Linked DNA regions of Homo sapiens: all the other regions are linked to region 1. Evidence: promoter capture Hi-C in human tissues and cell types (Jung and others, 2019). All regions are on one chromosome and are shown on one strand. The core of a region is centred on a gene start or on the middle of the fragment in contact, and the rest is flanking DNA. Distances in the headings are between cores, read along the strand shown.

Region 1 (4,547 bases), core at 1,957-4,456:
ACCTGGTGTGGGGTCTGTGGTCTGTTAGGAACCGGGCTGCACAGCACAAGGTGAGCGGCAGGCGAGCTGAAGCTTCATCTATATTTACAGCCACTCCCCATTGCTTGCATTACCGCCTGAGCTCTGCCTCCTGTCAGATCAGCAGTGGCATTAGATTATCATAGGAGCCCAAATCCTACTGTGAACTGCACACCAAAGGATCTAGATTGTGCACTCCTTATGAGAATCTAATGCCTGATGATCTGTCACTGTCTCCCATCACTCCCATATGGGACCGTCTAATTGCAGGAAAACAAGCTCAGGGCTCCTGCTGATTCTACATTATGGTGAGTTGTATAATTATTTCATTATATATTACAATGTAATCATAATAGAAATAAAGTGCACAATAAATGTAATGCACTTGAATCATCCCAAAACCATCCCCTGTCACCCATCCGTGGAAAAACTGTCCCTGATGCCAAAAAGGTTGGGGACTGCTGAGCTAGACTTTAGTACACATCCTTCCAGCTTTCTTCTCTTGGCCCTAAATAGAGTTAGAAACGAAAATACAGTTTATTGTCGCCCTGCGTCCATGCGTCCATGGGGGCTTTGGATGAATTCCAAGGAGATACTGGTTGCAGGAGCAAGCCCAAGGCACAAACGGAGTCACTTCAGGATCCGGATGCTCATTTTTTGCTCAACGTCCATCTTCTCTAAGGACTGAGGGAAAAACAAATGGCAGGCAAGAGGCTTGACTCTCAGCTCTCCATGCTCCCAACCTCCTCCCCCAGGGTTCTACCCATTCCAGAGACCCCATCATTCCCAGGCAACCCCTATCTTTCCGCCCTCCTCCGTTGAACGTTTCCCAAGTCTGTCTGCCCCAGAACTCCTGATCTCAACTCCCCAATCCCCAAGGGCACTCTGACCTTGGTGAACTCCACGAAGGACACAGCCCCATCCCCATCTTCATCAGCCTCCTGCACCGTGCGGTCAGCGATGTTCTCCAGCTGCTCTTCTGTCACCTGTACCCCAACCATCAGACGGAGAACCTGAGAGATGAGTGAAGAGGCAGCCATAAGGAGGGGGCACGAAGGCTGCAACTCCCCATCTCCTAAACCTTGCCCACCTCATCCCAAAAGTTATTGCTAATTTTATAATCCATCCTTCATCCATTTTTCACCATATCCCCCAATAATTTTCCCTACTGCTTCAACAACCAATCTCCTATCTCTCCCTCACCATCCTGCACTACCCTCAAAATATGCTCAAACTCATTACCCAACTTTATCACCCAACCTCCATCCATCCTCCACACCATTCTCCACCTTAGCCACTAAGGGTTTCTAATTCCATCCTCATTCCATCACATCTGTTCCAGAGTTTCTCAATCTTGGCACTGTTGACATTTGGAGCCAGGTAACTCCTTGTTGGAAGAGGCTCTCCTGGGTATTGCATGATATATAGCCACATTCCTGACCTCTACCCACTAGATGCCAGTAGCACACTCTCTCCCCCATTGTGACAACAAAAAGCATCTCCAGATATTGCCAGATATTCACTCAGGGAGCAAAATCACCCCCAGTTGAGAATCACTGATCTATTCCCAACCTCATAGTCAACTGCTCCCCACTCCGACTCCCAACAAACCCACACTCTAACTGCACCCATTCCCATTTCCCAACCAATACCCCAATTATCTGCGCCCCAGTTCCCCAATCATCCCACCCCATCTCTCACACCATTGCATTTAACCATCCCATCCTTCACACATCACATCTCTTGCTCTCGCTTTCTGCCAACCTGCAGCATCTCATGCCTGGAGATCTTCCCATCGCGATCCAGGTCATAGAGCTGAAATGCATCTGGGGAGAGGGTGGGAGGGGGAAAGGAAGGTAGGTCTTCCCTGGCTCTCTTCCAGCAGCCACCTTCCTTCCCCCCACCTTGGAGGAGGGGGGAGGTTGTCAATGCCCTCAGGAAGGGAGTGGGAGATCCCTGGAGCCTGTCCCTGGTGTGGGTACATCTGCATTCTCACTTGTGCAGGTCCTCACAAACTCACAGTGAAGTTTGTTCCTTCTGCTGTTGAGAGGTTCAGGTTTCTTGGGGTCTTGGGTTTCTGTGTCCTCATCTTCTACAGGGCGAAAATGAGCCAAGACCCTGACAAAGCCTGGGAAATCCACTCGCTGGCTCCTGGGGAGACGGGACAGAATGGAAAGAGGTGGTGGTCACCTTGGCCATCACTTTGCCTCCGTCTCTAACCTCCCCTCCCACCCACTCACACACCGGTTTTCCCGCCTTCACCTCCCCACGCCCAGCAAGCCTCACCCATCGGGGAAGAAGCTTTCTATAATTCGGTCTCCCAGGGGGTTCACGGCGAGCGCCCCTATCTGCTGGAGATCCATGCGGCTGCAAAGCCAAATTTCAAAGAGGGTAAGGCAGAGATGCCAGACGGAGGGTCAAAGAGGGACATGGAGTCAGAGAGACAGAGGCCAGAAGTTATGAGGCCGGCTCCCCCTCACCTCAGGTAGCCCTTCTTATTCCTGTCCAGTGCCCGGAACCGGTGGTGCAGGCGGAGCAGGCTGGCTTGGGAGACTGCGGGAAGGAGAGTGGGGTGGGGGTGTGTGACTCTGCAGGGCCAGCTCCAGAAACCCGCCCCAACAGGCCAGGAAGATGGGCCAGAACAGCGGGGGCTGGCTGGAAGGGGCGATCATCCCGGGGAATCAGGGGTTGAGCTGGCCGGGGCGGAGGGAGAGTGACACGACCCCGCGAAGATCCAGGTTCAAGACCCGGGCGGCTCGCAACCTCCCGAAAACCAAAGAACCAAAGCCATCCCTTCCAACCGCCGTCAGCTCTGCCTTCAGCTTCGAGCCGGGCTGGAGGACACCTGGGTGCCTGGATTCCTCTGGACTCCGACCCCGTGAACCCGGATCCTCCCCAGACTTGGAGGCTGGGACCCCTAGGTTAACCCGCCCCTAACCCAGCGATCCCAGGCACAGGGGCCTTGGTCTTCCAGCTCCGGGGAGCCCCGGACCCCAGACTTGTAAGTTCGTCCATCCTTCAACCCAACCCCTTCCCTAGCCCCAGACGCCTGGGTTCGCCCCGTCCCCTCCGCAGCCGCCGACGCGGGCGCACTCACAGCCGGTCTCTCGCCGAATACTGTCCCCGTCGGGAATGACCGCGGCGTGGGAGCTGCGCGACCCCATGGCCGAGCTGGAGGCGGAAGGGCCGGAGCAGCCACCCGGACCCACGCGTTCTCTCCTCCCGCCGGAGAGGCGTGGCCGCCCCAGTGGCCCCAGGGGGACGAAGGCCACAAGCCTGGCGCGCGGCCAAGCTCCAGAACCCCGGCGTGCCTCTCCTCCCACCCGCGACCCGGGCGAATGGAAAACAATGTGCAGGGTGGCGGGTCAGAGGGAGGCTGCGAACAACGGGCTGTTTCAGCTCCGAGATTTTGCGATCCGCACGGGAGAGGCTGGTCGAGTCCCAGGCCCCGCGTTTCCACGCCTCCCCCGGGGCCGGTTCCCACGGTGCGCCCTGACACCTGAGCCACCTCCTCCTTCGCGGGCCCCGGGCGCTCCCAACCCCAGGGCGCTCCCCGGCGTCGACGCTGAGGAAGCCTGGGAGACCTGACCTCCTCTGTAGAGACCACGCCCTGCTGGAAGGCGGGTGGCCTATGGGGAGGGAATCCTGGGGGGAGGGGGGAAGAGGCATCGAAGAACTCCCAAAGACGGGGAAGTGGGGAGGGGCGGCGAGATGAAGGGTGTGCGTTAGGTTAAGTGGAAAGAGCACTGGTTTGGGAGTCCTTGTTGGAATCCCAGCCGTGCCCGTGACTCTGGGAAAGTCAGTAAATCTTGGTTTCATCCCTTTTGTTCGGTTCACATTGCCTTATTGTTGTTTAATTGAGCCAATGCTTAAAATTCAGGAGATTTAACCCAAAATCCACATTCTTGGCTTTTCCTGAGAAATCAGAAGTTCTATCACCACCAGGCCCAGAGCTGTCTTCTGGCCACAGTCCCTCCAAGCCCAATTCACTCCCTTAGGTACCTACTGATCCCGTAGAGCTCCAGACTGGGAATGACTTAGTCCTCTGAACAGCCCTCCAGAGCCATGGGACTCCTTGGCCCAAGAGAGGGTTACAGACATCACTGGGACTAGGCTTAAAGCAAGAATGACAACAAGGGCTCTTGTTTACCACGCTTTGCTAAGCACTTTACGTGCATCCGTTCACACATTCCTTGTAGGCCCTGCTGGGCTGCTTTCTTCTAATTTTACGTGGTGGAGGCTGCCGGGGGCAAGTTGTGAACTAATTATGTAAAGCGTGCATTCTCAGTGCGGTCTCTATCTCACCCCAACGGGGCAAAAAATAAAACATATTTTTTATGTACAAAGCACAGCATACATACAGCACATAAATAGATATACAGTATAGCTGTGATATTGAAATTTCAGGGCAGACGTGGAGGCTCATGCCTGTAATCCCAGCACTTTGGGAGGTAGAGGCAGGAGGATTGCTTGAGCCCAGGAGCTCAAGACCAGCCTAGGCAACATAGTGAGACCCCATCTCTACAAAA
Region 2 (4,099 bases), core at 34-2,533, 520 kb before region 1:
ACTTCCGCCAGAATGAGCCTCAAAAATGAAAACCTGATTACGTCAGATCTTTAATTTTCTATTTTAATCTTTCCAAAGAATTTCTGTTTCCCCTAGAATAAAGTCTTACTTAACGTGCCTCCCAAAGATCTGCATGACACGGCCCCTGTCTACTTCTCCAGTCTTGCCATTCTCCCCACTCAGCCCACTCCTGCTCCAGCCATTACTGTATGTTTTGGCTTCTGTCCTAGGCTCTCTTTATGCTCCATCTAGCCTCCAGACCTTGGTATTTGCTGTTCCCTTTTCCCGGGACAACAACCCATCCCTTCATCTCTCTAACTTTTGCTCATCTTTCAGCTCTTAAGAGGTAATTTTCCTTTTGGAAGATTTTTCTCCATTCAAGGAGTCAGCTTGGTAGATAAGAAGGAAAGCCATGGAGTTATATCATTTGAGTTCAAATCCTGTCTCAGATAATAGCTCCATGTGTGACCTTGGGCCAGTTACTTAACCTCTCTGTGCCTAAGGTTTTTAATCTGTGAAATGGAGATATGAAGGGTTGTTAAAAAGGGTCAGATGTAATCGTGTAAGTTATTTAGCATAGAAGCTGGCACATAAACTCTCAAACAGTGTTAGATTTTATTTATTTATTTATTTATTATTATTTTTAGACAGAGTCTCCCTCTGTCGCCAGGCTGGAGTGCAGTGGTGCAATCTCGGCTCACTGCAACCTCCACCTCCCAGGTTCAAGCAATTCTCCTGCCTCAGCCTCCCAAGTAGCTGGGACTACAGGCATGTGCCACCACACCCAGCTAATTTTTGTATTTTCAGTAGAGATGGGATTTCACCATGTTGGCCAGGATGGTCTCAATCTCTTGACCTTGTAATCCACCTGTCTTAGCCTCCCAGAATGCAGGGATTACGGGTGTGAGTCACTGTGCCCTGCCCAGTGTTAGATATTATTATTATTTTACTTGTTATGCATGGATGTTCCCCCAAGGCTCTGTCTTTGGTCCTATTTTCTTATTTTTTACAGTCTTATTGGAAGCTCTTATTCACATTCAAGATTCTGCCTTTTACCACTGATGATTTCCAAATGTGCATTTCCCAGATCATACCTCCTTCCACATCATACTACCTTCCATACTCCAAGGGTCTTCTCTCTCTAAAGTTATTGCAATAGCCCACTGGCTTATCTCCTGCTCCCTTCTTACGTCTCAAAAATCTGTTTCTACCTGGGACCTGACCACAGTTTAAAGTCATCAGTTAGCTAGGTGCTGTGGCTCATGTCTGTAATCCCAGCACTTTGGGAGTCCAAGGCAGAAGGATCACTTGAGCCAAGGAGTTGGAGACCAGCCTGGGCAACATAGTAAGATCTCCATCTCTATTTTATAAAAAGTAAACAACAACAAACAAATACCATACATACATCAATTTAGATCCTATTGCTCTTCTGCTTAAAACTCTTTCATGGCTTCCCTTTACTTTTTTTTTTTTTTTTTTGAGATGGAGTCTTGCTCTGTCACCCAGACTGGAGTGCAGTGGTGCAATCTCTGCTCACTGTAACCTCCGCATCCTGGGTTCAAGCGATTCTCCTGCCTCAGCCTCCTGAGTAGAGTAGCTGGGACTACAGGCATGTGCCACTACACCTGGCCAATTTTTGTATTTTTGGTAGAGACGGGGTTTCACCATTTCGGCCAGCCTGGTCTCGAACTCCTGACCTCAAGTGATCCGCGCACCTCGGCCTCCCAAAGTGCTGGGATCACGGGTGTAAGCCACCGCACTCAGCTCCCTTTACCTTTTGATCAGGATTCTCAACCTCGGTACTCCTGACATTAGGGACTGGGTAATGCTGTGTTGTAGGGGCTGTCCTGCGCATTGCAAGGGGTTTAGCGGCGTCCCTGATATCACCTGCTAGATCTGGTTGTGCTTCCCTGATCCCCCAACCAAAAGTGTCTCAGACATTACCAAATGTTCCTGTCGAGAGCTACTGCCTTAGTATAAACTCCAGATGCCGAATGATAATCCTCAAGGTCATTCCTAGGTCATATGCTGGTCCTGCTAGGCTGGAGTCAGTTCCACCCAAACCACATGGACTGAGGACAGGGTGACATGGCAACCCCTCCTTTGACCAGAAAAAGGAGGAATGGATGTGAGGTTGGCCAAACAACAAACAAAAACATTCGTGGCCACATAATCCAGCCTCCCTTCAAGTGCCCATTTCTCCATTTCCAAGAACCAAGCCCTGGCACTGGCCAAGATAAATGTTTGTTCAGTGATTGCCCACTAGACCCTTCCATTTCCCAAATTCTCCATCCTCACCCACAGTGTCTTTAATTATAGGTTAGAAGGTGGAAAATTTATACATTTAAATTCCAATCCACCAAAAACTTGGTCAAAAATCTCAGTTTTTTTGCACTTTGCTTCATCTCACATATGAAGAATATCACCACAGATCTCAACTTTTTGTGGAGTGGTGGCTAAGCTTTGTCAGTTTTCATGAACAAAGACACAAGATGCTATGAATCCTCCAGGCTCTGTCCAACTTTATATCAGCAGGGTTGCATTTTAATCAAAGACACCTTTTTCAGTGCCTGCTGAAATCTCATGTTGCCTCTTCCATCCCAGTGATGGTGGAACAATGACTTAGCTTAGCTGCAACTAAAGAGAAGTCAAAAAGATACCAGAACCCACCAAGGGACTGTTTCATTTCCCACTGGAGAAGAAAAGACAGAACTAGAAGGAAATCTTCTGATGAAAGTATGGAAATAGCTCTTTTAGTTTCTCTCCTCAACTATATGAAGTTAGTCAACAGAATTAAAATACAGCTGTAGCAGAGGCTCTCAAATTTTTTGGTCTTAGGACTCCTTTACACTTTTGCAAATTATTGAACTTTTGTTTATGTGGGTTGTATCTATTTAATATTTCCTATATCAGAAATTAAAACCCCCCTAAAATAGTGAAATAGTTATTTTAAAATTCATTTGAAAATAATGATAAATTCAATTGCATGTTAACATAAATATTTGTATAAAAATAACTATATTTTCCAGAACAAAAAATAGTGAGAAGAATTGTTTTTACGCTTTTGAAAATCTCTTTAATGTCTGGCTCAAGAGAAGAGAGATAGATTCTTATATCTGCTTTTGCATTTGATCTGTTGCCCACTGTTGTTAGACTTGAAGTTTATGAAGAAAACCTAGCCTCACACAAGTTTGACAAATAGAGCAGTATTTGAATAGCTTTTGAAATAACTGTGAATATTCTTTGATACTACACCAAAACTCGACAAGTGGTAGTTCCTTAAAGGCTAGTTGCAATGTGGAATCTGAAACCATATTAACTTTTCATGCTCTACTACATGAAAATCCATTTTTCTAATCCTGCACGTTGAATGGGTCTTTTAGCCAGGCATAACTTTGTAACATCATTCATTGGTCATTCGGAAAGTATTGTTTCACTGAGTTATGCAGGTCTTCTAAATTTGGCACATTTCATTACACAGTGTAAAAACAAATCACATTGGCTCACAGGGACACAAGTTTTCCAAAATCATAATTATCACTTGAAACCTTGAATTTTTATCCTTGGCAACAAATACTGTCAGTTGCTTTCTTTGAAGTGACAGGCTCACTTAGCTCATTTTTGAGAAAATGTCTGCCAAATACCCAAGCCTGAATAACCATAATTTACCTGTCATTCTTTCAAGTAAATATGGTGTTTCATGGAAAAAAGCAGCTAGTTCAGCTCGCAACTCAGTCGCATAAGTGCCTTTGCTTGAGACCACTAGCATACTCTGGCTGAGGTACTCAATGCATAGTTCTCATTTGGTTACTCAGACTGTATAAATCTAGCACTCAAGGTCTGAGATTTAATAAAATTGATGCCTCTTTATGGCTTCATCAGGGACATTTTTAAGTGAGGCTAGCATTTTCTTCCCCTGCAAGTGAGTGGTGATGAATACAATGAGTACTGAGCCACAGCCTTCCTTTGTGGTCAGGCTCCAACAGTTTTACCTACCATTGTTTTTGCCTCATAAGTGCAAATTTTAACACATTGAAAAAAGCAAATCATATCTTTTTTTTTTTGGAGATGGAGTCTTGCTGTATTGCCCAGGCTGGTC
Region 3 (4,484 bases), core at 276-2,775, 610 kb before region 1:
ATCTACTTTAGAGAGTTGTTGAGGAAAGTCCTCTCTCAGGAGTGACTTGTCCAGCTCAGATCTGAAGGATGAGAAGGGGCCAGCCATGTAAAGAGATTGAAGACATTTCAATCAGTAGGAATGGCAGGTGCAAAGGCCCTGAGGCTTGAGCAAGGAACTGAAAAAAGGACAGCCTGACTGGAGTGCAGGTAGCAAGATGGAAGTATTAGATTGGCGCAAAAATAATTGCAGTTTTTGCCATTGAAAGTAATGGCACAGAATAAAGTTACTTTCGCACCAACTTAATGGCACAGAATAAAGTTGAATGGGTCAGCATGCTCCTGATAATGCAAGAACTTGGAGATCCTAGACAAATTTTGTTTTTTTTTTTTTTTTTTTTTGAAGAAGGAGTCTCCCTGCACCCAGGCTGGAGTGCAGTGGCGTGGCCTCGGCTCACTGCAACCTCCACCTCCCAGGTTCAAGCAATTCCCCTGTTTCAGCCTCTTGGGTAGCTGGAACTACAGGTGCCCACCACCATGACTGGCTAATTTTTTTTTTGTATTTTATGTAGAGACGAAGTTTCACCATATTGGTCAGGCTGGTCTTGAACTCCTGACTTCAGGTGATCCACCCGCCTCAGCCTCCCAAAGTGCTGGGATTACAAGCGTGAGCCACCATGCCCGGCCAAAAATTTGAATTTTATTTACGTACAATGAGAAGCCTTTACAGAGTTGTCTTCTCTTTACCAAGCAGTTTTTTTTGGTATAACTTTAACCTGCATTTGGCTGACTGTTGCAGCCCTAGCCTCATGGGTCCCTCATATCCTCTCTGTTCTGCTCCTTGTAGCCAACTGGTAATTGCCTTTTGTGTCTCTTAGTTAAGTCTCTTAGAGATCATCTGATTGGACCAGCTGACCTTTTGGAGTCTAGTTGCAAATCCTAGACCACTGGCCATCCTATGACTGGATTGGCTGGCCTTATATCAGGTGCAATCTTTGATCCAATCAGCTGTGACCAAGGACAGGTCCTGCCTTCCTACCAGGGACTGTAGATAAAGCAGGCAATGATACTCCAGAGATAAGATCTAGGAAACTAGCATTTCACTGGGTGCCTAACTTATTAAACTTCTGAAAATACATGTTAGGTAGTGTCTAATGTATTCCTGATTAAAACTGTCAAATGGCTTCTAAATGCACTTAGGGTCAAAACTCAACATCCTTAGCATGCCCTTAATGCTGCATCCTCTGGACCCAGCTTTCTTTCCTGTTCTCATCAGTGCTACTCTTCCTACACCTTACTGGCCTGTTTTGCTGTTGTTGTTTGCTTGGTTGGTTGTTTTTTGTTTGTTTGTTTGTTTTTGGTCTCTCCAGTCTCAGGACATTGCACATGCTGGTTTTTTTCCCCTAGACACTTTATTTATTCCCTTTCCTCGAATAACTCCCAATCTTGCTTTTGCTCTGATCCTAAATGTCATTTCCTCTTCTTTGATCTCCCCTCCACCAGCTAAATTAGAGGTCCCTGTTTATTTATTTATTATGTTATTTTATTTTATTTTTTGAGATACCGTCTGGCTGTGTCGCCCAGGCTGGAGGGCAGTGGCTTGATCTCGGCTCACTGCAACCTCCGCCTCCCAGGTTCAAGTGATTCTCCTGCCTCAGCCTCCTGAGTAGCTGAGATTACAGGCGTGTGCCACCACATCCGGCTAATTTTTGTATTTTCAGTAGAGGTGAATTTTCACCATGTTGGCCAGGCTGGTCTCGTACTCCTGACCTCAAGTGATCCACCCACCTCGGCCTCCCAAAGTGCTGGGATTACAGGTGTGAGCCACCGCACCTAGCCAGAGATTCCCATTTATATTTGTATTTTTTGCATTACGTTTTCCCTTCATGACATAGATCACAATTTTGAATGATGTTGATGTGTATGTTCATTTGTTCAGTGCTTGTCTCCTCCACTAGACTGAGACTTCCATGAGGACAGTGGTCATATCTTTTGGGATTATTACTCCTTCTGGCTGTCTTAGTCTGTTTTGTGTTGCTGTGAAGGAATCTCTGAGGCTGGGTAATTTATATATAACAGAGGTTTATTTGGCTCACGGTTCTGCAGGCTGTACAAGAAACATGGTGCCAGCATCTGTTCTGGTGAGGGCTCAGGAAGCTTTTACTCACAGCAGAAGGCAAGGGGAGCCGGCATATGCAGAGATTACATGGCAAGAGAGGAAGCAAGAGAGAGACAGAGGGGAGGTGTCAGGCTGTTTTAAACAACCAGCTCATGTGAACTAATACAGTAAGAATCCGCTCATTCCCAAGGGAGGGCATTAATCTACTCATGAGGGATCCACCTCTCTGACCCATCTGCCTCTCATCAGGCTCCACTTTCAGCATTGGGGATCAAATTTCAACATGAGGTTTGAAGGGGGTCAAACATCCAAACGATAGCACCAGCGCACAATAAGTGCTGAATGATAAGTGCTGAATAAATAAATGAATGAATAAATGGATGAATGCGCAGAAGTGAGAGATTGTGTGGCCCGAGGAGCCACAAAAGACTTCATGGTGCTGGGTGCAATGGGTCATGCCTGTAATCCCAATACTTTGGAAGGCCGAGGTGGGCAGATCACTTGAGGTCAGGAGTTTGAGACCAGCCAACATGGCAAAACCCCATCCCTAATAAAATACAAAAATTAGCCGGGAGTTTTAGTGTACACCTGTAATCCCAGCTACTTGGGTGAGTAAGGCATGGGAATTGCTTGAACCTGGGAGGCGGAGGTTGCAGTGAGCTGAGATTGTGCCGCCACATTCCAGCCTGGGCAACAGAGTGAGACTCTATCTCAAAAAAAAAAAAAAAAAGACTTCATGGAAAGCATGAGGCTTGACCTTGGCCTTGAAGGATGGATAGGATTTGGAGAGGGCAAGCGGAAACATTTCAGGTAGGGATAACCTTTATCAGCAAAGGCAGAGAATCGGGAGAAAGCCTGAGCTAGCCCAGGGTATAGTGTGGACACCAGCCTGATTAGTGCAGAAGCCTGTGCTGACAAGATCTGGAAAAGAAGATTGTCCAGGCAGAAAAGCACCCAAATGGGAAAAATGTAAATCTGTGAACTATATTAAATCACAATAGCTAACATCTATATGGTGCTTATGGTGTTTCAAGTTCTTTTCTAAGTGCGTTGTGAAGGTAAGCTCATTTAATCCTCACGATGAACTTACGGAGTAAGTGCTATATTTGTGCCCATTTTATGGACAGAGAAGCTGAGACAGAGGGTGACGATCTTGTCAAAGGTCTGTGGTTGATAAATACAGAGCTGGGATTCAAAGTCATTGGATTCAAAGTCAAAGGAATCAAACTCCGCAACTGTCCAGATCCAGTTGCAGAGTTTCCATGCTTGAATGTTGTGCAAGCTGCCTCTCTGTTCTCAAAAGGTAGAGGCATAACTTGGCAAAAACTCAGTTCCAGGGACTACACATTAAAGCAGCAGCAAAGAGAAACTCAAGGGTTCTGGTCCTGAGATTGGTGGAGGGATCTGCTGGTCCAGAAATTTGGTCCCTCAAATGCAGCTGGGAAAGGGAGCTGCATTTGAGGGAGAAGGAGATGGAGAACTCAGCAATGGAGCAAGAGATTCAAGCAGCATGGCCAGGAATGCTTAGTGAGGGGCTGCTGCATGGGCTTTCAAGTCAGGCAGACGTGGGTTTGTGTATCGACTTTGCTGTCTACTTGTAAGTTTCACCATCTTCACAATGGATTTAACAATCATACCTGCCACAAATATGAGAATTCAATGAGACAAGATGAGTGAAGTTCATGGCACAGTGTCTGACACAGAGGGTGGCGGCTTAGTGAATGGAAATAATCTTCCAGTGGATTTGGATGGCAAGGATAGGCCTGAATCCTGGCTGCAACCCAGAAGTGGTAATATTAATATCTATCTGATGCCAGCCAGCGGGGTTCAACTGAGCAGCTGTCAAGCAAAGGTATCCCGAGGCTCCTGTGCCAAAGCTTTTCAGGGAGCAAACCTAGATGGTGCGGTGGGGAGGCATGTGGGGTACAGAGGGAGTCCTTCCGGGGGTCACGTGGCCATTTCTCTCCTCTAGCACTCTGGCCTTTGCAGAAGGACTTTATTCTTGACTACCAGGGCTGATACCCCGCTAGTTAAGGCGCTGGGGCCTTTCTCTCCATCCCAGATCCACTTCCCCGATGCCCTGTTTTTGCACACTCCCAGTTCCCAGGGTGCCTGGATGCTGCTGCTTCCCCTTCACAGTGTTCTTCACATATTTGCTCCAGTTCTCAGATCCTTCCCTCTCCAAGGGTGGCTGGACCACTTGTCCCCAAGAGTAGGAGGAGATGCATGGCCCCTGAGCAAAGATGACATGCAAATTCGTGAAGCATTCCACAGTTTCAAATAGTTAATGCATTCAGGGCTTAAAACCTAGATGACGGGTTGCTAGGTGCAGCAAACCACCATGCAACATGTATACCTAGGTAACAAACCTACAAGTTCTGCCCTTG

The links. The method cuts DNA at HindIII sites, captures the fragments that hold promoters and counts their contacts. A contact is called where the count stands out against the background at its distance.
Region 2: a fragment that was not itself captured here is called in contact with the fragment with the promoter of CHP2 in region 1 in 2 of the 25 tissues and cell types used here (dorsolateral prefrontal cortex and lymphoblastoid cells).
Region 3: a contact is called between a fragment that was not itself captured here and the fragment with the promoter of CHP2 in region 1, in 2 of the 25 tissues and cell types used here (mesenchymal stem cells and spleen).

The regions. Positions count from the first base shown.
Region 1 is chr16:23,753,685-23,758,231 of GRCh38, reverse strand. CHP2 (calcineurin like EF-hand protein 2) reads right to left here and starts at 3,206. Exons shown (of 7, transcript NM_022097.4): 1 at 3,116-3,206; 2 at 2,499-2,571; 3 at 2,305-2,385; 4 at 2,039-2,169; 5 at 1,783-1,844; 6 at 909-1,031; 7 at 1-702. The coding sequence starts at 3,182. The coding sequence ends at 649. RefSeq lists an enhancer at 2,673-3,318. The HindIII fragment of the contact is 8,876 bases long and covers 1,197-4,547 here.
Region 2 is chr16:24,275,160-24,279,258 of GRCh38, reverse strand. The region is part of intron 1 of CACNG3 (calcium voltage-gated channel auxiliary subunit gamma 3); the gene reads right to left. Among named protein-coding and RNA genes, the nearest start is that of CACNG3, 21 kb to the right of the region's middle. The HindIII fragment of the contact is 9,849 bases long and covers 1-4,099 here.
Region 3 is chr16:24,365,164-24,369,647 of GRCh38, reverse strand. No RefSeq gene overlaps it. Among named protein-coding and RNA genes, the nearest start is that of CACNG3, 110 kb to the right of the region's middle. The HindIII fragment of the contact is 3,061 bases long and covers 1-3,055 here.